Regions from separate parts of the Homo sapiens genome. Here all the other regions are linked to region 3. Evidence: promoter capture Hi-C in 16 types of primary human blood cells and fetal thymus (Javierre and others, 2016). All regions are on one chromosome and are shown on one strand. The core of a region is centred on a gene start or on the middle of the fragment in contact, and the rest is flanking DNA. Distances in the headings are between cores, read along the strand shown. Region 1 overlaps TUT7 (terminal uridylyl transferase 7). Region 2 holds the start of TUT7 (terminal uridylyl transferase 7). Region 3 holds the start of KIF27 (kinesin family member 27). Region 4 holds the start of ISCA1 (iron-sulfur cluster assembly 1).

The links. The method cuts DNA at HindIII sites, captures the fragments that hold promoters and counts their contacts. A CHiCAGO score of 5 or more calls a contact.
Region 1: a contact is called between a fragment that was not itself captured here and the fragment with the promoter of KIF27 in region 3, in 1 of 17 cell types (neutrophils). The highest score is 9.0, in neutrophils.
Region 2: a contact is called between a fragment that was not itself captured here and the fragment with the promoter of KIF27 in region 3, in 3 of 17 cell types (total B cells, activated CD4 T cells and non-activated CD4 T cells). The highest score is 8.5, in total B cells.
Region 4: a contact is called between a fragment that was not itself captured here and the fragment with the promoter of KIF27 in region 3, in 5 of 17 cell types (total B cells, non-activated CD4 T cells, naive B cells and 2 more). The highest score is 8.3, in total B cells.

Annotation. Positions count from the first base shown.
Region 1 is chr9:86,298,132-86,303,440 of GRCh38, forward strand. TUT7 (terminal uridylyl transferase 7) reads right to left here. Exons shown (of 27, transcript NM_024617.4): 25 at 4,955-5,070; 26 at 3,145-3,470. Among named protein-coding and RNA genes, the nearest start is that of ISCA1, 18 kb to the left of the region's middle. The HindIII fragment of the contact is 4,572 bases long and covers 1-3,979 here.
Region 2 is chr9:86,349,659-86,354,676 of GRCh38, forward strand. TUT7 (terminal uridylyl transferase 7) reads right to left here and starts at 4,752. Exons shown (of 27, transcript NM_024617.4): 1 at 4,613-4,752; 2 at 3,022-3,572. The coding sequence starts at 3,541. RefSeq lists an enhancer at 4,601-4,810 and a silencer at 4,831-5,010. The HindIII fragment of the contact is 195 bases long and covers 2,419-2,613 here.
Region 3 is chr9:83,918,712-83,924,550 of GRCh38, forward strand. KIF27 (kinesin family member 27) reads right to left here and starts at 2,721. Exons shown (of 18, transcript NM_017576.4): 1 at 2,660-2,721. LOC105376335 (serine/arginine repetitive matrix protein 1-like) reads left to right here and starts at 2,190. Exons shown (of 3, transcript XM_011519284.2): 1 at 2,190-2,550; 2 at 2,643-2,987. The coding sequence starts at 2,190. RefSeq lists enhancers at 2,253-3,002, 3,617-4,121 and silencers at 2,324-2,703, 2,734-2,883. The HindIII fragment of the contact is 5,103 bases long and covers 684-5,786 here.
Region 4 is chr9:86,278,494-86,283,517 of GRCh38, forward strand. ISCA1 (iron-sulfur cluster assembly 1) reads right to left here and starts at 4,045. Exons shown (of 4, transcript NM_030940.4): 1 at 3,885-4,045. The coding sequence starts at 3,965. It overlaps LOC124902194 (a long non-coding RNA gene), which reads right to left and starts at 3,588. Exons shown (of 2, transcript XR_007061634.1): 1 at 3,476-3,588; 2 at 1-2,960. RefSeq lists a silencer at 3,426-3,725 and enhancers at 3,896-4,045, 4,166-4,445. The HindIII fragment of the contact is 1,365 bases long and covers 2,690-4,054 here.

The DNA of each region.
Region 1 (5,309 bases), core at 444-2,943, 2.4 Mb after region 3:
ATTCTCTTTCCCTTTTCTTGTTTTGTTATTTCTTCCTAGCATTTGCCACCACATGACATATTATTTCTGTATCTCTTTATTGTCTACCTCTTCTGAAAAGGATGCAGAGTAAATGAGAGAAGGGGCTTTGCTTGTTCACTGCTGTATCTTCAGTGTTGAGGCTGGTGTCCTGAACTTGGAAAGGGAGGGGAGAGGCTGGATAGCTATTTGTTGAAAGAATGAATAAATGAAGTAGCTGAGAGGTAACAGTGGAGTTCAGGCTAGAGATTAGTTTTTTTCCTTACTTTGTGTGTGGCAAATACTCTCCAGGAGGAGAAAACACTGCTGGCAAGACAGCAGCAACAAAAAGCACGGGACTGGAACAAATAATTGAAGACTCTGGTTGCCACTCATGGGTGGTATAAACATCACTTGGAATTTACAAAACACACAGGCCCATGCTTAACCACTGAAGAATTAGCTTTAGGAAATAAAGGTAGAGGATGGGCAACTATATGTTTTAAAGTTCCCCCAAGTGATTCTGATGTCCAATCCCTGTTAAAAGCACATATTTGGAGAAAAAGTCTCAAAAGGCATGTGGTAAAGTATGCAGTAAATAAAATAACACACATTTGTTTTTTTTAAAACCCACATACCTGACTGGGGACTCAAAAATATTGTTGTTTTTTGTTTCTTTTTGTCTTCATGTAAAAGCACTGCCTAAAAAATGAAATAGACTGGTTTACAAAATCGAAAGGAAGAGCATCTGAAACAGCCTTAAAACCGAAACCATATCCAAGGAGAGCTGAAATAAGGCATGTGGGTGGCAGAATTTTGCAAGTTAACTGAAAAGCAAGACCATGGGCAGGAGTTCTGAAACAAGGCCCCGCCATCCGGTGCCCAGTAAGCCTCACCACGCACCACACCCGCGCAGGACAGACAGGAGTGCTGCAGGTCAGCCAGAGGAAGGAGGGCCCGCACTGCCAGCACAGCGCAAGGACATGGTGCAGAGCTGAGAGCACTCAGGGAGCAGCTCCTGAGTGAACAGATGACAGACACGCCTCCTTCTCCGTTTGAGCTAGGTTTACCTGAACAAATAAACCAGTTGGTTTCAATGGGACAGGTGAGGGCGATCCAAACATACAATCTGATTTAGACATTCCTAAAAAAGAAATTAGCACTTTTTGTTCCTACTTTAAATTGAAAGCAGTAGCCCTGTTTTCAAACTTTCACAGAGAGACTGTCTGTTGGTGTGACAGAAGCTCCACTCAGTATATTGTGTGGACAAAGGAGCAATATATCTGAAGAAACAAGAGAGAGCAGCATAATTTTGAGAGAGGAAGAAGCAGCTGATTATTTTTGAACTGCCACCAAAGGAAATTCCCTGTATCTATCCCCATGCCTCCACTGTCATTTCACTTTTAAAATATGATGACTACTAACTTTAATGTGTCAAGACTGCATTCTGAAGGGACCACATTTCTAGATAAGTGCTCTTCCTTATGCTTGATAATTCCCCTGCCACCCGGACTACCCGCCCCGCATCTTTTTGAGTTGCTGCTGTCCCCACAGGCTGCCAAAATCATTGGTCTAACTGTTGTGAGAGCTTCCCTAGTACACAACTTAAAACTTGCTGCTAGCGAGAAAAAAGAAATTCATCAAAGCTGGGGCAAATTCTCCACTTTGTTGTACCAAAGAGGAAGACTGTAATAATGTTTCAGTCATGAGTAATCAACACAGGCCTCGAGTAATTTTAGGAATAATTTTGGGAATACTATTTAAAAGTTATCTATACTATTTACAGTTTCCTTACCTGTAAAACAGCAGATATTAATGTATTTAATGAAGCTGTTGTAAAAATTAAATGAAATTATCCATGTAAAGTACTTAAAATAGTGCCTAACTCATAGTGAATGCTCAATGAATGTTAGCAACTATTATTATTGTAATTTCTTTTAAATACATTTTCCTCTTAAAACAACAAAAGAAAATCACTTTATTCTGGTATATGTCCCATGTGAGCAGCTAAAGCTGTATCTTTCATAAACATTTAAACCCTACTCTAAAAATAATAGATAAAAATTTTTAAGTATTTTGATCTTTTCATATAAAGCTCCTTTAAAAAAGAATGGGTATGATCTAAAAATCTCCTGTCTTAAAAAAAGATACACTATATTGCTGAATATGATAAAATAAAATAGAAGAGAGGTATTCTTGTTCCAAGAACTATACACATGGAGTATTTTAGGGAAACTGTAAAGCAGCTGACACTTTATGCTGTCCACAAACATATATATACAACTGAGGATAGCGACAGGATTGACTACTTTAATTAGAAAAAAATTACTTCCAAATATTTCTTTTCTATGCTTATCAAATTTCATCACTTGCACAGTTCTGAGAAGTGAGAATGTAAATTGCTTTGTAAATCATTACTTATTATACACACACAAGGTACCCTTATAGTTAGTAGTCTGTTTAAAAGGTGCCCACAATAGACATTTCACCCATTTAGCAAAAATGGCCAATTTGTATTTAACAACTCAAAGGGGCCAGATTTGTGGATGGTGTTGTTAATGACTGCTAATAGATATTTTCTTCGTCATAAGAATAATCATGCTCACTTGTAGAAAATCAAAATGACAAAATCTACAGAAAAAAATCTTCCATAATTCCCCTCTGCAGATTCACCCACTGCTAACTATGCAGCCTATTTCTTTCTGTTCCCTTTTCTATGCATGTGCCTGTGTGTGGCTCACCTGTGCACAGAGCATGGTGTCCTGAGATAACTCTGGCTACCGCCACCCCTGTGATTTGATTTCACAAGTACATATATCAAGTAGCAAAGCTCAAGTTGCAGCTTCTTTTCTGGTCACTGAGGCTACATGTGCAGGTACCAGGGATGATTACACTTTCACCTCACTGATAATCTTAGAAAAGTTCACCAAATGACTCTCATAAGACTCTAAATAAAGCCAGGAATAAGATATATGGAGGATCAACATTAAAGGAGGGGGAAGGGATTTTACTTTCTTAAAAACAAGATCTTTTTTGAGTAAATATATTGATAAAGAAATAAAGATAACTAAAATAGTAAAGAGCTCTAAAAAGCAGATTTCCCTTGAGATGTTAGAGCAAACATCAAGGTGTGATAGGTGTCCATACCTGAAGAGCCTTTAAACTGTGGGCATTCCTTTTTAATGTGCCCTTCTCTTCCACAAATAAAACAACGTTTTTCTCTTAAGTCTTTGTCATCCTGTCTCTTCCATTTTTCTACTGGTGGCCTGAGGATCTTCTCCCTCCCCAGGTCAGCAGCTGCCCGCATTGGCTTGGCTTTCTGAGGTGTGCACTGTATGGGCTTATCTTCTTTTGTTGACACCTCCCTTTCTGTGTACTTGTTGTGAATTTCTTTGTCCTCTTTGCTTCTTTTTTCCTTGTTCTCAGGGTATCTTTGGTTCAGGGCATCTTCCTGATCTCGCCGCCGTCTTACTCTGTAGAAGATATCATATTAGTAGCAAAAATCTAAACAGAAGCCTAACAAAATATTAAGGCAATTCCCAAAATATTAAGGCAATTCTAGATTTAAGAGATGACCAGGAATAGAAAGTATTAAAAGGAAAAGCAAGAACCTAAATGAAAATCCATCTTCTCTGTTAAGATGCTCCCTCAGGGTTTAAGGGTGCAGTTTTTCTTCTTCATTTTCAAAGTTGCTCTAGTGCTGTAAAACCAATGACTGCAATTAGTGGCACTCCTTGGCTGAATGCCTACTTTGACACTGATGTAATGAAAGGCAAATCATCCATGGAGTGATTTCTTGAACGGCCTTTCTGGCACATTAGCATTCTTTCTTTACTTGGCACTGGAAATTTTAGATGTGAAGGCTTAAATTCACAAAGGAACAATGGTTTTAAGATTTATGCTCTTAAAATGTCAAAATCATTTCTCCCTTATCCTAATAATCACTGATTTTTGAGTAATGAAAAAAAGGACTGAAAAACAAAGCTTCTCAAATTCCAGATGGTAACCTAATTTGAGCACCATGTTTTAAAATATTGCTGTACAGTTAAAAACACCACCACTACCACCCAAAACAACGTATCCCAAGGCAAGCAAGCAAAAACATGTCTCTCTTGCCCCCCAATAAACGCCACCAGAAGAAAGCATGGGGACTAAACTGCATGGCTTACCTACTCACAACAATTATTAAGGGTTAAGTGGAATACAAACAAAGAGTGCTAAAATCCAGTGAACTGTTTGTGAATATATATCCCAACGTGCTGAACAGTTACTGTGCATTAGAGATGTAACTGAGATCCTGAAGGAACTCATTTGACTGTTTACTGACTGAAATGATTCTGAACTTCTCACTACTGTAAAAAGGAAGAATTTTTGTTTCCTCTTTTCACCATGTTGGCAAGGCTGGTCTTGAACTCCTGGCCTCAAGTGATCCGCCTGCCTTGGCCTCCCAAAGTGCTGGGATTACAGGCATGAGCTACTACACCTGGGCTTTTTTTTTTTTTTTCTGAGACAGAATCTTGCTCTTTTGCCCAGGCTGGAGTGCAATGGCGTGATTTGGGCTCACTGCAATCTCTGCCTCCCGGGTTCAAGCGATTCTGCAGCCTCAGCCTCCCAAGTAGCTGGGACTACAGGTGCCCGCCACCATGCTTGGCTAATTTTTAGTAGAGATGAGGTTTCACCATGTGGGTCAGGCTGGTCTTGAACTCCTGACCTCAGGTGATCCACTCGCCTTGGCCTCCCAAAGTGCTGGGATTACAGGCGTGAACCACTGCACCCGGCCTAAAGTCATGTTTTAAATCACTTCATTTCATTAAAAAATAAAATAAAAAACTTAAATGTATCTGAAAACTGCTGGATTTTACACAAGTGTATTTTCTTTGTTATAATAGTACCTCATTTAAAAATTGGGACATTAAGAAAATAAAAACACAACCAACCCCTTTGAACATTTACTTACTTTCTCCTCATAGGACAGTCCTTCATGAAGTGTCCGATTTTTCCACAAATTCGACAACATCTATCATTTGGGGCCAGCTCTCCTTCAGTTAACACATCTGGATCAAAAAAGTATTCCTAGAAGAACATAAATATATAAAAGCCTGAACTATTCACGTGAGATCGGAACACAAAACTAACCAGATATTAAACAGTTATCTTACAATTCAATGTTGATATAACATTACTTTTAATAAATATTATTTATACTGCTTAATTCCAAACAAAATCTAAGACCATCAAGGTCTAACTCAGGATAGTTTTAACTAAATCCATTTTTGTTTATTCCTTTTAGTCATGCAGAGCACTCGTGAGCC
Region 2 (5,018 bases), core at 1,266-3,765, 2.4 Mb after region 3:
AGAAATTTCGATCTCTTTAATGAGATCCTTTTTAGTTTATACTTTCAGTTGAATCTCTCTAAACTAAATAATGTTATACCGAAGCTTAATGCTTCCTATATGAAGATTTTCAAGGGATAGAAACTGAATAATTCTTTACTTAATAACTGTGAAAGCATATACCTGTATGTCATACAGCAAAAACATGCAAACTTTTGAATTACCTCCAATAAAAAAATAGCAAAATGCATTTCCTATTCAAATACACTTAAAAGCAACTTCTTTAGTTGCTTTTATAAGAATACACATAAAATAAGAAAACATATAAAAGTTTTTGTGGTCAGCCAACAGTTCCTTTTAATGTCTAGTTGCAAATTTTTGATCTATAAACTTTCTTTTTAAAATGCTTTTCAGCCGGGTGCAGTGGCTCACACCTGTAATCCCAACACTTTGGGACGTCAAGGCAGGCAGATCATGAGGTCAGGGTATCGAGACTACCCCTGGCCAACATGCTAAAACCCCAACTCTACTAAAAATACAAAAATTAGCTAGGTGTGGTGGCACGTGCCTGTAGTCCCAGCCACTCAGGAGGCTGAGGCAAGAGAATTGCTTGAACCTGGGAGATGGAGGTTGCAGTGAACCAAGATCGCACCACTGCACTCCAGCCTGGGCTACAGAGCGAGACTCCATCTCAAAAAAGAGAATAATAATAATAAAATGAAATGGTTTTCAAGATCAACTTCTACAAGACTATAGGTAACAAAATTAAATACCCACATCCCACCTGGACAGTAATACAGAAACACTTAAATATACACAATTTTTAATAAAGAAAAACACAAATCAAAAGCCCAGAAATTATCAAGAAATATTCGGCTCCGCCGTCAGGATTTCAGGTCCAGCGAGGCTGAGTTAATGGCCAGAGTAGCAGAGTCCCCAATTTTAGTTCTACTTCCTCATTTACCGCGCTGCATAAACAGGTCTGTGGAAATTTAACCTCTCTGAGCTGCAGCTGCCTGATTTGTAAAACTGTGATTCCATTTTTGATATATTACAACAGAGTACTGCATCAGATAATTCCTCAAGCTATTTCTAGCTTAAAGATTTAAGTTTTATGTCTCCCTACTACTTAACGCCTTTATAACACTTCATTCTGTTTCTGCTACTTGATATTAATATATACTCTTAATTTTCAAATTTAAAAATATCTGAGGGCCAGGCGCGGTAGTTCACGCCTGTAATCCCAGCACTTTGGGAAGCAGAGGCAGGTCGATCACTTGAGGTCAGGAGTTCAAGACCAGCCTGGCCAACAGGGAGAAACCCTATCTCTATTAAAAAACAGAAAAATTAGCTGGGCATGGTGGTGTGCACCTGTAGTCCCAGCTACTTGGGAGGCTGAGACATGAGAACCGCTTGATCCTGGGAGGCAGAGGCCACAGTGAGAGGAGGTCACATCACTGCACCTCCAGCCTGGGTGACACAGTGAGACTGTCTCAAAAAAAAAAAAAAAAAATCAGGCTGAATGTGGTGGCTCACGCCTGTAATCCCAGCACTTTGGGAGGCCAAGGTGGGTGGATCACTGGAGGTTAGGAGTTTGAGACCAGTCAGGCCAACATGGTGAAACCCTGTCTCTATTAAAAATACAAAAATTAGCCTGATGTGGTGGCATGTGCCTGTAGTCCCAGCTACTTTGGGGGATGAGACAGGAGAATCGCTTGAACCCAGGAGGCAGAGGTTGCAGTGAGCCAAGATCGCGCCACTGTACTCCAGCCTGGGTGACAGAGCGAGACTCCGTCTCAAAAAATAAAATAAAATATAAATAAACAGATCTGACAACTAGAAGTATCTGTGAAAAAAGAAAAAAAATCAAGTAGCACATTTCCCCCCATTTAATATTAATAAGTGCTTGAGACTTTCATTTTTATCCTAAGACCTTGTAAAGATAAAAGACGACCTTTTGGCTTTTAAGTATTCTATACGCATGGGACACAAATTCAAACACCTTATAGGTAACCAGTGTATGAACTGGCCACTGTGAGATAACATGAAGAGAAAAGGCATCGGGTGATCTAGAAAGTGTCCATATTCCCTGAATGCATTTAAACTAAAAAAATTTATTTAAAAGTGCTGGCCAGTTTGAAACACATTCTATACAACCACTAAAAAACGCTTTCAGCCACTAAACTTACAAGTCCATGTTTCCAACTGTGATATTGTTTCATTTTTTCCATCCAATTTGTGACTTTATTTCATTTCGGTATATATCTCCCATTAGATAAAAATAACCTTCCTGTTTGCAGAAATCGTTGCCACATGGATAAAATCTACTTTTTACTTTTAGAAAAACATATTATCTCCTTATTATCCCTTTGGGGCAATTAACCAAGCATGTGAGGGCACCGAGAAATTAGTTTTGGTCTTACTGAAACCAAACAGCAAAGCTTGAATCTATTTCTGACTTTCTAAACTTGTTTCTCAACCTGTTTGTCACGATCCCTTTTGAAAAACAAAGATCTCAGATTATCCATCTCGGGACACTGACACTACATCCAAAAGATATATCTCTTGTGGCAGGAGATATACGCAGTGTATACTGTGTTTTTACATCAACAAATAAGTTTTTTTTTTAAAAAAAGCTTTATATTCTGTCATTTATATTATGAACACATTAATTATTCAAATACAAAATTATAATCACAATTTTGAAAACACACAAACCACTGAGCAATTACGATATGGTCCCCTGGAGCATATAGCTACCCTCTTCTGTAAAAAACACGTTACAGAAAACATGTTTACTGACGTAAAGTGAGCCCTGGGGCAAAGTAAACTTTTAAAGGGATCAACATATGAAATGTGTTTTAGCTGCTCAAATATCATGATTACTATCCTTAAAATAATCACACTAAGTGACCATTTCTTAAAACAGAAACTGTGAAAAACTGAAACTAAATTGCTGAAAATAACAAAACTCATTTGGATGAAAAAGAATAAAACATTGCTGACTCTGGGGTTGTGATCTGACAAGTTGGAAAACATTACCAGGACTTCCTGCTTCCATTTCTGACGTGGTTTCTAGGCTTGTTAGGTCTTTATGAAACAGTCGTCTTACAGTTCTGCAGCCTCTTGTGTCTTGCCACCTATAACCATCTTCATTTTCTTGAAAGGAGTCTTTTCTTTGTCGGTTTATAACAGGAATTCTAGGTCCAGGTTTGAATTCTCTCCAGTTGTCTGAATTACCAGTATGTTCATCAGACAGCCATCTCTTACTCTGATCTTTGTGGCTGTCATTCATCCAAGCGGGTTGACTGTAGATTGGGTTTTTAAATGCATATGGATTGCTGGAAACAGCACATGGTCCTTTTCTGGGGGTATTCCCATAGTTCCCTGGTGTTATCTTCTTTTTTTGAAGGCCCTTTTCCATTTTACTGCCATGGCCTTTAGCATGGTCATCTATTATTAAATAATCTTGTTGGGGGTGACCCCTTCTGAAGTCATCATCATCCATAGTCCCCCGGTCTTTAGTGCGCTTCACGAAATAAGGTTTTGCTGTATCTCCCATGGTCTTTGACTTCAATTTTCTTACTTTGCACCTGAAAGAAGGTATTTTGGGGAAATATCAAACTATATAACAAGATATCATACAAGTATACAAAATAACAATTTATCGTACAGATGCCCCAAAGCCTGTAAGAAAGAAACTCCCTATTTTTTTAAAATAAAAATTCTATCACATTCTTAATAATCAGTGCTTTACCCTAGAGGTTGGGAGGCTTGGTCCTCTAATATTCTTCATGAAAATTAATACTTACTATTTAGCATGAAGATTAAATGTGTGAATAAGAGAAGCTCTATAGGTTCCAGAACTGTAGCATAGTAGAATATTACTCATATCAAGTATGGTCGGCTTTTCCCTCTGTAACAAGGCGTTTCTCTTCAAAGAAAACCTCATCCCAAGCCAATATTATTACTAAACTACCGAAACAGTCTTTTGTTTTTTAAGTTGGCAATTACTTGTAAGTGTTATACACCGAAACTTTACGTGAAAGGAGTACTACATTTCTCAACTCCAATTTTCCGTCCCTTCACCACCCCTATTCTGGACAGACCGGCTTTGAGCGCTTAGGTTACGGAGGGGCTGGGCTTCCGACCAAGGTGCAGCTGTAATTAAAGAGGCTGGGTTTCCGATCAAGGGACAACTCCATCTAACCTCCTCAATCCCCGTTCTCCAACCCCAAACAAGTTTGGTTTTGTCAGGAACAGCAATTCCCTGAGGAATGACACTCCTCTTCAATCCCCATCTGACCGCTCCACCACCGATCTGCCTTAGTTTCCACCCTTTTGAGCCCGACGTGGAGAAAGAGGAGGCGTCCCTGCACTCCTGGCCAAGAAGCCACCGTGGGGACCAGGAAGCAGGAAGTGACCTGCTGTCTCCATGGGGTTCCAGGGTTCCCCCGGCCGGCCAGGGGGCCAGAGCCGAATGTCTTGACCCAAATCCCGTCTTCTGCGCCCGCAGTCTGACAAAAAGTGAAAACACGGACTCGAACCCGAGGGCTCAGCCTCTGCCGGCCTGGGGGTTCCTCGGTCACCCAAACTGGTGCGAGGAGGCCGGCGGGGGATGGAACCAACGTACCTCCGGGGCCAGGCCGGACAGCTACTCTGGAGTCCAGGAAACCAACTGGAGAATCAGCCCGGAGGCGAGTCTGGCAGGGACGTTGGGAGAAGGCGCCCAAGAGCACTCACCACCTTCGCCGCGGTCCCCAGCCTCTTCCTGTCCCGGCCGGGCTCCCTCTCCGTGTTTTCCTTCGGCCCCACTTCCGGCGCTCAGCGCTGTCTCATTGTGCGCGATTGGGAGCCGACTGTGCCCCCGCCCTAGCGCTCCGCCGCGCACACCGGAAACGAGCGACGCGCCCCGCCCCGCGGTGCCCCGCCCACGCTCCGACCCCGCCTCCCGCGCCTTTGCCAGCCTGGCCTCTCCTGTCCGGCGCCCCAGCGCACTCGCTCCAGGTGTCGGGCGCCGGGTCTGGCCACCGGGCGCA
Region 3 (5,839 bases), core at 1,471-3,970:
GGGAGGATGACCTGAGGTCAGGAGTTCAAGACCAGCCTGGACAACATGGTGTAACCCCATTGCTACCTAAAATACAAAAATTAGCCAGGCGCAGTGGCTCAAACCTGTAATCCCAGCATTTTGGGAGGCCGAGGTGGGAGGATCACCTGAGGTCAGGAGTTCGAGACCAGCCTGAACAACATGGTGAAACCCCGTCCTTACTAAAAATACAAAAATTAGACGGGCATGGTGGTGGGCGCCTATAATCCCAGCTACTAGGGAAGCTGAGGCAGGAGAATCGCTTGAACCCAGGAGGCAGAGGTTGCAGTGAGCTGAGATCGAACCACTGCACTCCATCCTGGGCGATACACCAAGACTGTCTCAAACAAACAAACAAACAAACAACAACCACAATGAGATACCAATCCACATCCACTAGCACTGCTATAATAAAAAAGACAGATCATAAGTGTTGGCAGGGTATAAAGAAATTAGAACCCTCATACACTATTTGTGGGAAGGTAAAATGGTATAGCCACTTTGGAAAACAGACTGACATTTCTGCAAAAAGTTAAACATACAGTTATCTCTTGACCCAGCAATTCCACTCCATCAAATGATCCAGCAATTCCACTCCCAAGAGAAATGAAAACATTGTGTTCGCATAAAAACTTACATACAAATGTTCAGTTTTGGAAGGATAAAGCTTATACAAAATTTAACAAGTAATCTATGACAATGTTTGAGTGCAGATGATGAAAAGTAATGAATTTGAGGTGAGGTTAGGTTCTTTGGAAAAGCTGCTGAGTCTTGAAGATTACCATTAAGTAACACAGACAACTAGACTGAAATAATATTTTATTAATAACACTAACAACAATGAATTGATAATATTCACTACCCTTGAAAAAAAAAAAACCATGGCCCAGCACGGTGGTTCACATCTGTAATCCCAGCACTTTGGGAGGCCAGGGCGGGTGGATCACTTGAGCCCAGGAGTTCGAGACCAGCCTGGGCAACATGGAGAAACCCTGTCTCTACTAAAAATACAAAAATTAGGCAGGCATGGTGGCGTGCGCCTGTAATCCCAGCTACTCAGAAGGCTGAAGCGAGAGGATCCCTCCTGAAAACAAAACAAAACAAATGTGAGCCACGATGCCCAGCCTCATTTCTTGGGGTTTTTAATGGTAATATCTATAAAGAATTTGGTTATAAAGGCAACTGAAACTTATTCTAAGCATTAAAAAAAATAATAATGGGGCCGGGCACAGTGGTTCACACCTGTAATCCCAGCACTTTGGGAGGCCAAGGCAGGTGGATCGCTTCAGCCCACGAGTTCCAGACCAGCCTGGGCAACATGGTGAAACCCTGTCTCTACTAAAAATACAAGAATGTGCCAGGCTGTGGTGACGCACCTGTAGTCCCAGCTACTTGGGAGGCTGAGATTGGAGGATCGCTTGAGCCCGGGAGGTTGAGGCTGCAGTGTGCCACTGCACTCCAGCCTGAGTAACAGAGCGAGACCCTGTCTCAAAACAAAACAAACAAACAATAGTAATGGTCCACAAACATAGGGCTTGTAAAACATCAATATACAAGAAATAAAGTTTTTACACAATCCATAGCACTTATACTTCAGATTCTGATCAATTATAGTCATCAGAAACATACGTATTATGTTGCCAATAAATGATTTAAAAAAAAGCAAAATCTGATTGGTCGTATTTAAGTATACTCAACGGGTTTTTGAAATCTGAGCAAAGGCAAGAGAAATATTGAATCCCTCATGTCATGTCACTGGTCAGGAATGAGTGTCTCCAAAAACCGTTGCCATCCCGTACCCTTGATTTCCCAGAAAGCAGTGGTTGTCTTAAATGTGTGGTTTGTTAATTATTTTCATAAAAAACTTGCCAGTAGATGGACAGTAAATCGCATACGGAGCTCAGAAAAGGCCCCAAATGCGTAAAGACGACAAAAGAGTAAAGAAGGGCAAACAACAAGGATTTTCAACACTGGAGACTTAAAAGGTGTTACTTAAAAGGTGTTTCAAAGAAAGAATCTGGGCGCTTTGCTCTTTATAGTCACCTGCCTCCGAGGGAGGGAGCTCTCGGGCTTGAATGTGCCCAAGGTTCAACCTCTACGGTAGGAAATGCGCCCAAGTTTCAACCTCTACGGTGGGAAATGCGCCCAAGTTTCAACCTCTACGGTGGGAAATGCGCCCAAGTTTCAACCTCTACGGTGGGAAAAAGACGCCTGCGATAAAACAAAGCGCTCGGTGGTGGTGGCCCTCGCGTCGCACCTCACGCCGTGCAGCGACACGAGACGAACACAGGGTGCGCTCTGAAAGGCCGGGTCCCGCGTTCCGGTCGATCGGTGTTCCCCGGGACCCGCTCCTCAGGGCTGACCCAACTTCCTCCGGAAGGGGCGCTCTGCCTCTAGTCGCTCGCCGGCTCCCAGCCCCGACCCCAGACCCCTCGGACGCCCCCATAGGCCTAGCTGGCGCCCCAACCGCCCACCCTCCGCTACCCACCCGCGGCGGCCCCGACCCCAAGCCGGAGCCTACTAGTCCCAACGGCCGGCTGGGGGCGCGGGAGCGGCGGGCGCGGCGGGCTGGAGGGCGGGCACCGCGAAGGGAGGGCGCCCCACTTCCCCGCACCGCCCGCCAGGCCCGCCGAGCACTGACCGGCTCGGGACAGCCCAGGCCCCTGTCGGCGAGCGCTGGACTCCTCAGCTTCGCTCTGCCACACCGCGCAGCCGCCGTCCGCGTCTTTTGTTGTCGCGAGTTCTCCTGGCAACCGGCGAAGCCCGCCTCCCGCCGCGTCCTCTCCTGGATGCCGCGTCCTGGCCCCGCCCCCATCCTGGCCACGCCTCCAAGCCCGCCGCGCAGGAGTCCTGCGTCCCCAGGAAGTCCGCAAAGGGCCGGCCCCTGGGCTTGCCTGCAAATCCGAGTTGTGTCCCACCAACGCGCTGGGACCGGTCTGTGAGGCCTGAGCGCAAGCATCTTTCTACGGGTTCGTGAAATGAGTGAGAACGATTCCACACCGTGTTTCAATATCTTAGCTACCAATTCAGTTTATTTTTATTTTTATTGAGTAAAACTTGCCTAACATAAACCATCTTAAAACTCACAATTCAGTGGCGTTTAATGCATTCACAGTGTTGTGCAACCATCACCTCTGTATATAGTTCAGAAACATTTTCATAACCCCAAAAGAAAATCCCCAAACCAGTTAGCAGTCATTCCTTCTGGTTCCCCTCTCCCCACAACCCCAGCCAGCCACTAATCTACTTTCTGACTCTGTGATAGCTTTACCTATTCTGGGCATTTCTTTATTGATGGAATCATTCAGTATATGACCTTTTGTGTCTAGCTTCTTTTGCTTAATGTTTTCAAGATGCAGTCATGTTGTAACATCTATCAGGACTTCTTTTCTTTTTTTTCTTTTCTTTTTTTTGAGACCGAGTCGCGCTCTGTCGCCCAAGCTGGAGTGCAGTGGCGTGATCTCGGCTCTCTGCAACCTCCACCTCCCGGGTTCAAGCGATTCTCCTGCCTTAGCCTCCCGAGTAGCTGGGATTACAGGCGCGTGCCACCACGCCCGGCTAATTTTTTGTATTTTTAGTAGAGACGGGGTTTGTTTCACTGTGTTAGCCAGGATGGTCTTGATCTCCTGACCTCGTGATCTGCCCGCCTCGGCCTTCCAAAGTGCTGGGATTACAGGCGTGAGCCACCACGCCCGGCCCTTTAGATGGAGTTTCGCTCTTATTGCCCAGGCTGGAATGCAATGGCGCCATCTAGGCTCAACGCAACCTCCACCTCATGGGTTCAAGCGATTCTCCTGCCTCAGCCTCCGGAGTAGCTGGGATTACAGGCATGAGCCACCCTGCCCGGCCCTATCAGGACTTTTTAGGGCTGAAAAAATTCCATTGTATGGATATAGACATACCACATTTTGTTTATCCATTCTTCAGCTGGTGGTGGACATTTGGGCTGTTTCCATGCTGCTATGGACATTCACATACAATATTTGGATGTCTGTTTTCAGTTCCTTTTTTTTTTTTGAGATGGAGTCTCGCTCTGTTGCCCAGGCTGGAGTGCAGTGGCGCTATCTCAACTCACTGCAAGCTCCGCCTCATGGGTTCAAGCAATTCTCCTGCCTCAGCCTCTGGAGTAGCTGGGATTACAGGCATGTGCCACCACCACGCCTGGCTAAGTTTTCTGTATTTTTAGTAGAGACGGGGTTTCACCATGTTGGTCAGGCTGGGCTCGAACTCCCGACCTCAGGTGATCCGCCCACCTTGGCCTCCCAAAGTGCTGGGATTATAGGCGTGAGCCACCGCGCCGAGCCTGTTTTCAGGTCTTTTAGGTATGGACGTAAGAGTGGAATTGCTGGGTCGTATGGTAATATTTAACTTTACCAATTTAGTTTTAAATGCTTTAATGCCTCCTGTTTTTAGTAGCACAATCTAAGCATCTTCAAAAACCCTTCCTTCTCTCATGAAATATAGGAATGAAGGTGGGGGAAAAAAGCTGACTATTTTATTTATAGTTTTTATTTTTTTTTCTTTTAACTGAATTATTTAAAATTTTAAAAATTCAGTCTGGGCACAGTGGCTCACACCTGTAATCTCAGCACTTTGGGAGGCTGAACTGGGAGGGTCACTTGAGCCCAGGAGTTTGAGACCAGCCTGGGCAACATAATGAGACCCCCCATCCCTACAAAAAATCAAAACTTAGCCAGGTGTGGCTGAGTATGCCTGCAGTTCCAGTTACTCTGGAGGTGGAGGTGAGAGAATGGTTTGAGCCTGGGAGGTCAAGGCTGCAGTGAGCTGTTGTTGCACCATGGCATTGCAGCCTGGGTGACAGAATGAGACTCTACCTCAAAAAAATAATAAATAATACATAATTTTTAAAATTCTAAGATTTCATTTATACACATACCTGTGTATTGAGTCATGATGTCAAGGGAATGTCTGATAGTGGCTCAGTATCAATCAAATGCGAAAGCCAGTGTCCTGGGCTTGCTTTTCAGATTGGGGTGATGGATTATTTCCTAGTCTTCCAAGGTTCCCCTCATGATTGGTGGAGATTGTGGTTGCCCAATTTGACTATAGGGCCAAGTTGCATTTTTAGAACTCTTTGAAAACAAACAAAAACTCACATCATGACTGTGAATTGGTAAGTCAGACTGGTCTGCTGACAAAACTTCAATAATTAATAGTACGTAACAATTTAAGTCTAGGAATACCCAGAAGTCTCAACAGAAGTTCTCAAGAGGCCACACAATTGCAGAGAGGAGGTCAGCAAATGCCCAACAGCATTAGAATGGGGCATTTTCCATTGTCCCCAAATTGATGTCTTGAGTCCAGAGTTAGAGAAAAGGAGTTACTTAAGTTCCCCACACTGTGAAGTGAATGCCAGTCATTGCCAACCCCTCCTCCCTAGGATTTATAGCAGGACTAAGCTAATTCCATTCAAATTCCAATCCTATCTCTTTTTTAAGTATCTGTAAGAAAGACTCGGCAGTGGAGTCAAGGGGTCTTGGGCCTTGTGGGTTGGAGAGTAAGAGGCCTCCCACCTAAGTCAAAGGAGGCTCTAAGAGTGACGGGCAAACCCTGTGTGATGTGCTAGAAGAGGAAACCTGGCCTTCTGGTGGGAGCAACTAGGGGAAGAAGTGAGCTGATCTTCTTCTCAAGAATGGAGCGAAGCAACTGAGATGTTGCTGTAGTAGAGCAGTCTGTGTTCCTGCAGTTTAGCAGGGGGAGAAGCTGTGATTTGCTCATGGTCCAGGGGATCCTTTGGAGGGTACCCAAGCTTGAGCCCCATGAAGATTGTCTTGAGGACTGTCTCCTGCAGATAAGTCCC
Region 4 (5,024 bases), core at 2,122-4,621, 2.4 Mb after region 3:
GTCTCTACAATAAATTAAAAAAAAAAAATTAGCAGTCAAGGTGACATGTGCCTGTAGTCCCAGTTACTTGGGAGGCTGAGGTGAAAGGATTGCTTGAGCCCAGGAGTTTGAAGCTGCAGTAAGCCATGATCATGCCACTGCATATGAGCCTGGGTGACAGAGGAAGATCCTGTCTCTAAAAAGAAAAAGGTTTGTAATCATGGCATATATACATAATTTTGCAGCCTCCATTGAAACAATTTAACAAATTATTTTTTCATTTGATACATGGTAATAAACATATATTCACCATTTACTGAGCACCTTCTAAGTGTTTAATGGTTTAAACGTAACATCTTTTTATTCCTGCCATTGTGATTTAGGTATTAAAGATTAAATAATTTGCACAGCATAAGTCAAAGAATGAAGATTTATAACGCTGAAACTTAAAAAAAACCATAATTTACAATGACTACATCCTTCACCAACAGGATCTACTCTCACGTACTTAACCGTTCTTTCACTGTTAGACTGCTAGGCTACTTCCAGTGCTTCTTGTGTAGTATTTCCTAAACTGCCTTCGTATAGAAATCTTAGTGCTTGGTCACTGTTCAAAAGGACTTCTGGTTCTAGTCCAATGAACTAACACACAGTTCCTTACTGAGCATTAAGCATTTCCTAGCTTCTCAACTGGACTCCAATAGAAAGTTAAGCCCTAAGGCACCTTCCGTACACAATGAATTCATCAAGAATGATAGTGGCTGTGCACCATCATTCTCTCATAGAACTTGGTTGAGTTTTAATGCACAGCTGTGATCCACCCCAGTCCTACAAATTAGAGTTGCTCTGACTTGTACAATGATGGAAATAAATCTGTCTGCAAGCAGGGCACTATTTACTCTTCAGATTCTTTAATCACATCTGGCTCCTGCAAGTTCAATTCCACTTGTCAATTTCTAGATATGTAGGGAAATAGGGAAGATGTAGATAATCTGATAATGACAGCATTGAACTGTGTTATATTATCAGTTACTTTTCCTAGCCTTTTGTTGACATCTGGTAGACTCCACACATATAGCACTTTTCAAATGTTGCAACATGTCAAATTCCTAACATCAAAATTTATATATCCAGGTAACATTTATCCCTTCCAATCAGTTTTACTGAATTAGGTATACTTGTGTTTGCTCTTATCTGTCTCTACTTATTAGACCCAAGTAACATTTACCTCTTCCAATCAGTTTTACTGAATTACGTATACTTTTGTTTGCTCTCTTATCTGTCTCCATTCATTAGGCCTTTGACGGCATCACTACTTTTGCACTTGACGATACATGCTGATGATAAACTAAGCACAAAGAGCAATACATGCCATAGTGTCCTGACTAGGGCACGAATGCTGGAACTAAAATGACTGCAAGCCCACCAACACAGGCTGTGTGGAAAACAGCATTGATGTGCCTTCTCTCTGGTACAGCTTCTGAGAAGCTTCTAAAGTCAGCCATACTTAAGTAGGACAACAGAGTACAGACAGTAGACTCCTGCAAGTTAATCAAAACAGCTGAGTCAGGCAACATGGATACCTTGAGAACTGCTATGATAACATGTACTGAAGCAGAGGGGAGCAAGTGTGGAGAGAGACCAAGCCTGAGAATGTGCAGTGCTATTACTCCTAGTAAGAGGTGGCAAAGGCTTGGCCTGCGACTGTGCCCCGTAGGCTGGGAACTGTATAACTCATTCATTTGTCTTGAAACACAGCAGATCTTGATAAATGTCTGCTGAATGACTAGGAATGGAGAGAAAGGGACTGACATAGAAATTCTGAAGGAAGGGCAAGGCACGGTGGCTCATGCCTGTGATCCCAGCACTTTGGGAGGCTGAGACGAGTGGATCACGAGGTCAGGAGTCCAAGACCAGCCTGGTGAAGATGGTGAAACCCCATCTCTACTAAAAATACAAAAATAAATAAATAAATAAGCTGGGCATGGTGGTGGGCGTCTGTAATCCCAGCTACTCAGGAGGCTGAGGCAGAGAGTTGCTTGAACTCAGTAGGCAGAGGCTGCAGTGAGCTGAGATCACGCCACTGCACTCCAGCCTGGGCAACCCAGCGAAACCCTGTCTCAAAAAAAAAAAAAAAAAAAAGAAATTCTGAAGGAAGAGGTAACATGTCAAATGGTGATGGAGAAAGACATCAGGGACCAGGCATGGTGGCTCACACCTGTAATCCCTGCACACTGGGAGCCTGAGGCAGTGGACTGCTTGAGCCCAGGAGTTCGAGACCAGCCTGGGCAACCCAGGGAGACCCTAGGTGCATGCATGACGGTGCACACCGGTGGTCCCAGCGACTTGGGAGCCTGAGGTGGGAGGATCGCTTGGGCCCAGGAGGTTGACGCTGCAGTGTGCCATGATTGCACCACTGAACTACAGCCTGGGAGATAGAGTGAGACCCTGTCTCCAAAAACAAAACAAACAAAAACAAACAAACAAACAAAAAACAAAAAACAAAAAACCCAGTTAATAGGGTTGCTAAAAAGCAAAAAAGAAAAGGCAAAAACTGTTCCTGAACCTTCTGGCTCTTCCTGGATCTACCATTACCAGTGGAAGAATTCTGAATAATTCTTACTGAGATTGAAAGAGACACAAAGAATGAGTTGTGCCCTCTAGTTCTTAAAACCTTGTTTAATTCTACATCCCACGGTGTATGAAAATAAGCTTGCTCCTACAGAAAAGAGGTAATATAGAATGATACATAATCAGTACACTAGTAGTACCATATATAATCAGGGTAATATCAAAGGCCTAAAAAATTGATTATAAAAATAAATTCTCTCACCTGATCACAATTTTCTTCTACTTTGCTACAAACTTATTTTCTGGTAATAGGCCCTTTTGGCATTAGATGCAACAGAATCGATGAGTCAATTTAAATCGTTTTTTTTCCCAGTCTCTAAGCGAATGGTTGCATAAAGTCGTCTCCTTCACTAAAAGGGGAGTGTATGTAGGAACGTGATCATAAATTTTTCTTTTGGGGTGAAAGTATTTTGGAACTAGATAGAGGTGATGGTTGCACGACACTGTGAATGTCTTAAATGGCACTGAATTGTACCCTTTAAAAGGACTAATTTTATGTTATGTGGATTTTCCTTCCACTAAAAAACTGAACGGTGCGGCCGGAACACTGAGCTCAGTGAATTCTCTAAGTAATCAATGGTTGCACTCTGGTGCCCTCTGAGTGTTTGACCTTTCACCCAGAAAAGGCTGTAAACTCACTCTGGGAAATCATCTTTTGTCCTAAGAGCCTAGGCTTGCTAGAGGCACAGAGGGAGTTTCAAAGGCCTCAATCACCCAGGACACCGGCAAGTAACGCTTTGCGCGCCGCGGCCGTGACCTCGGCAGGAGCCGGGGGCTTTGTTGTCGCTGTGCTCGCCCTCTGCGAACGCTGTCGCCCCGACACAGCGGTCCTTCGGACAGCCTGGTCCCTCCCCACCCCACGCACCTCCAGGCTAGGACTCCGGGCCACCACCGGGAACCCCCGCCACCGGGCACGTTCAGCCTCTGCTTAACCGGAACGGCCGAACAGCGCAGGCCGGCAGGAGTGTGGAGGCGATCGGCCCCCGGGGACGCCCACCCCCGGGATCCCCTCCGGCCCGCACGCGGTTGCCGCGCGGCCTGACGGGAAACGTAGTTTCCGGGGCCAAGAGAGCAGCCCCGCCCGGGACTTGTTTATCGTTGCAAAGAGGGGCCGGAGGCGAAGGAGGCGGCGAGGCTGTGCGGCGGGTCGGAGCGACGCCGAGGTCTGACGTGTCCGCGTCCCTGCGGCCCCACTCCCGGCCGCCGTGACCTCCCCTTGCACGGGGCGGACACGAGCAATGTCACGGGCCCCGCCGCGCGCCGCGAGCACTCACCAGGGTGAGGGCTGCCCGGGTGGGCTGCAGCTTCCTCTTGCTCACAGCCCGGACAGTTGCCCGGACTAAGGAAGCCGACATCTTCGCCGTCCCGGCGCCCCGGTGCCTCGGGCCGAAGGTCGGCCGCCTCAGCTTCTCTCCATGGACACGGCGGGCGCATTGACGCCACAAGCTTCGGCGCACGGCGCCCTCAGTCCTAGCCCCGCCCCCCGCCGCCACCATTGGGTGAGTTGCATGAGTGACGAGCCGGGGGCGGGGCAAGCCGCTCGGGGCGGGGTTTTGCCGCTCAACGCCGGGGGTCTAGCAGCTGGGTTGCGCACGGTCTCCGGCAGTGGGGTTACCACGCTGCAGGGCGCAGGGCCCGGGAGGAATGTCTTCACCGCCGAGGACGGAGTCGGCGTGACGTCGGGGAGCGGGCGGGAGGGGGCGAGGAATGACCTCAGACCTGCTGACTCCGGATGCACGTAGCTTCACCACCTGCCCCCGGGGCAAGGTGCAGCGTCACCCCCTGCTTTAATACTCACCGTGACAAACACCATCATAGGCGGTGACACTTAAGGACGCATAAGTCAACCCTGCACTGGGAGCTTATGCTCTCAAATGCAGAGTGATCGTTCCGATGCCCAGACATCTACATCCATTTTCATTCTTCTTTTGTGGTCCAATTAGGCTGTTCTTAAGAGCATGGCGTTACCGCAGAGTTGTATAATCGCCACCCTCCACCCTTCTCCCCAGCGTGCTGTACTGCTGGGGATGCTGAAGGGTGGTGACTAATGCAGTTTTCATTCTGGTGCTGAACTGGGAACCAACCCTACTTGAAAATGTGACTGGGCAGCAGTGTGAATAGTCACATTTATAGCGAGCAACAATTACTCGATTTAAAACGTGTTGTCAGACCTTGTCCTGGCTGCTCAGGGGCTTAATTCTGCCTTTTGATGCAGTATTCCTGAGCACCAGACACTGCACAGGCGCGGTACCCAGGCATACACAGGAAGCCAGGTAAAGAGGGGCCAGGGAAGAATGAGATACTGGCAGGACAGGGCTAGCAGATGAAGAGAGGAGGACATCAAGACAGGTGGCATTTGTCATTGAAGTGCTAGAAGTGAAGGAAAAAGGGCAGGAGGGGTCTATGAAGCAGTC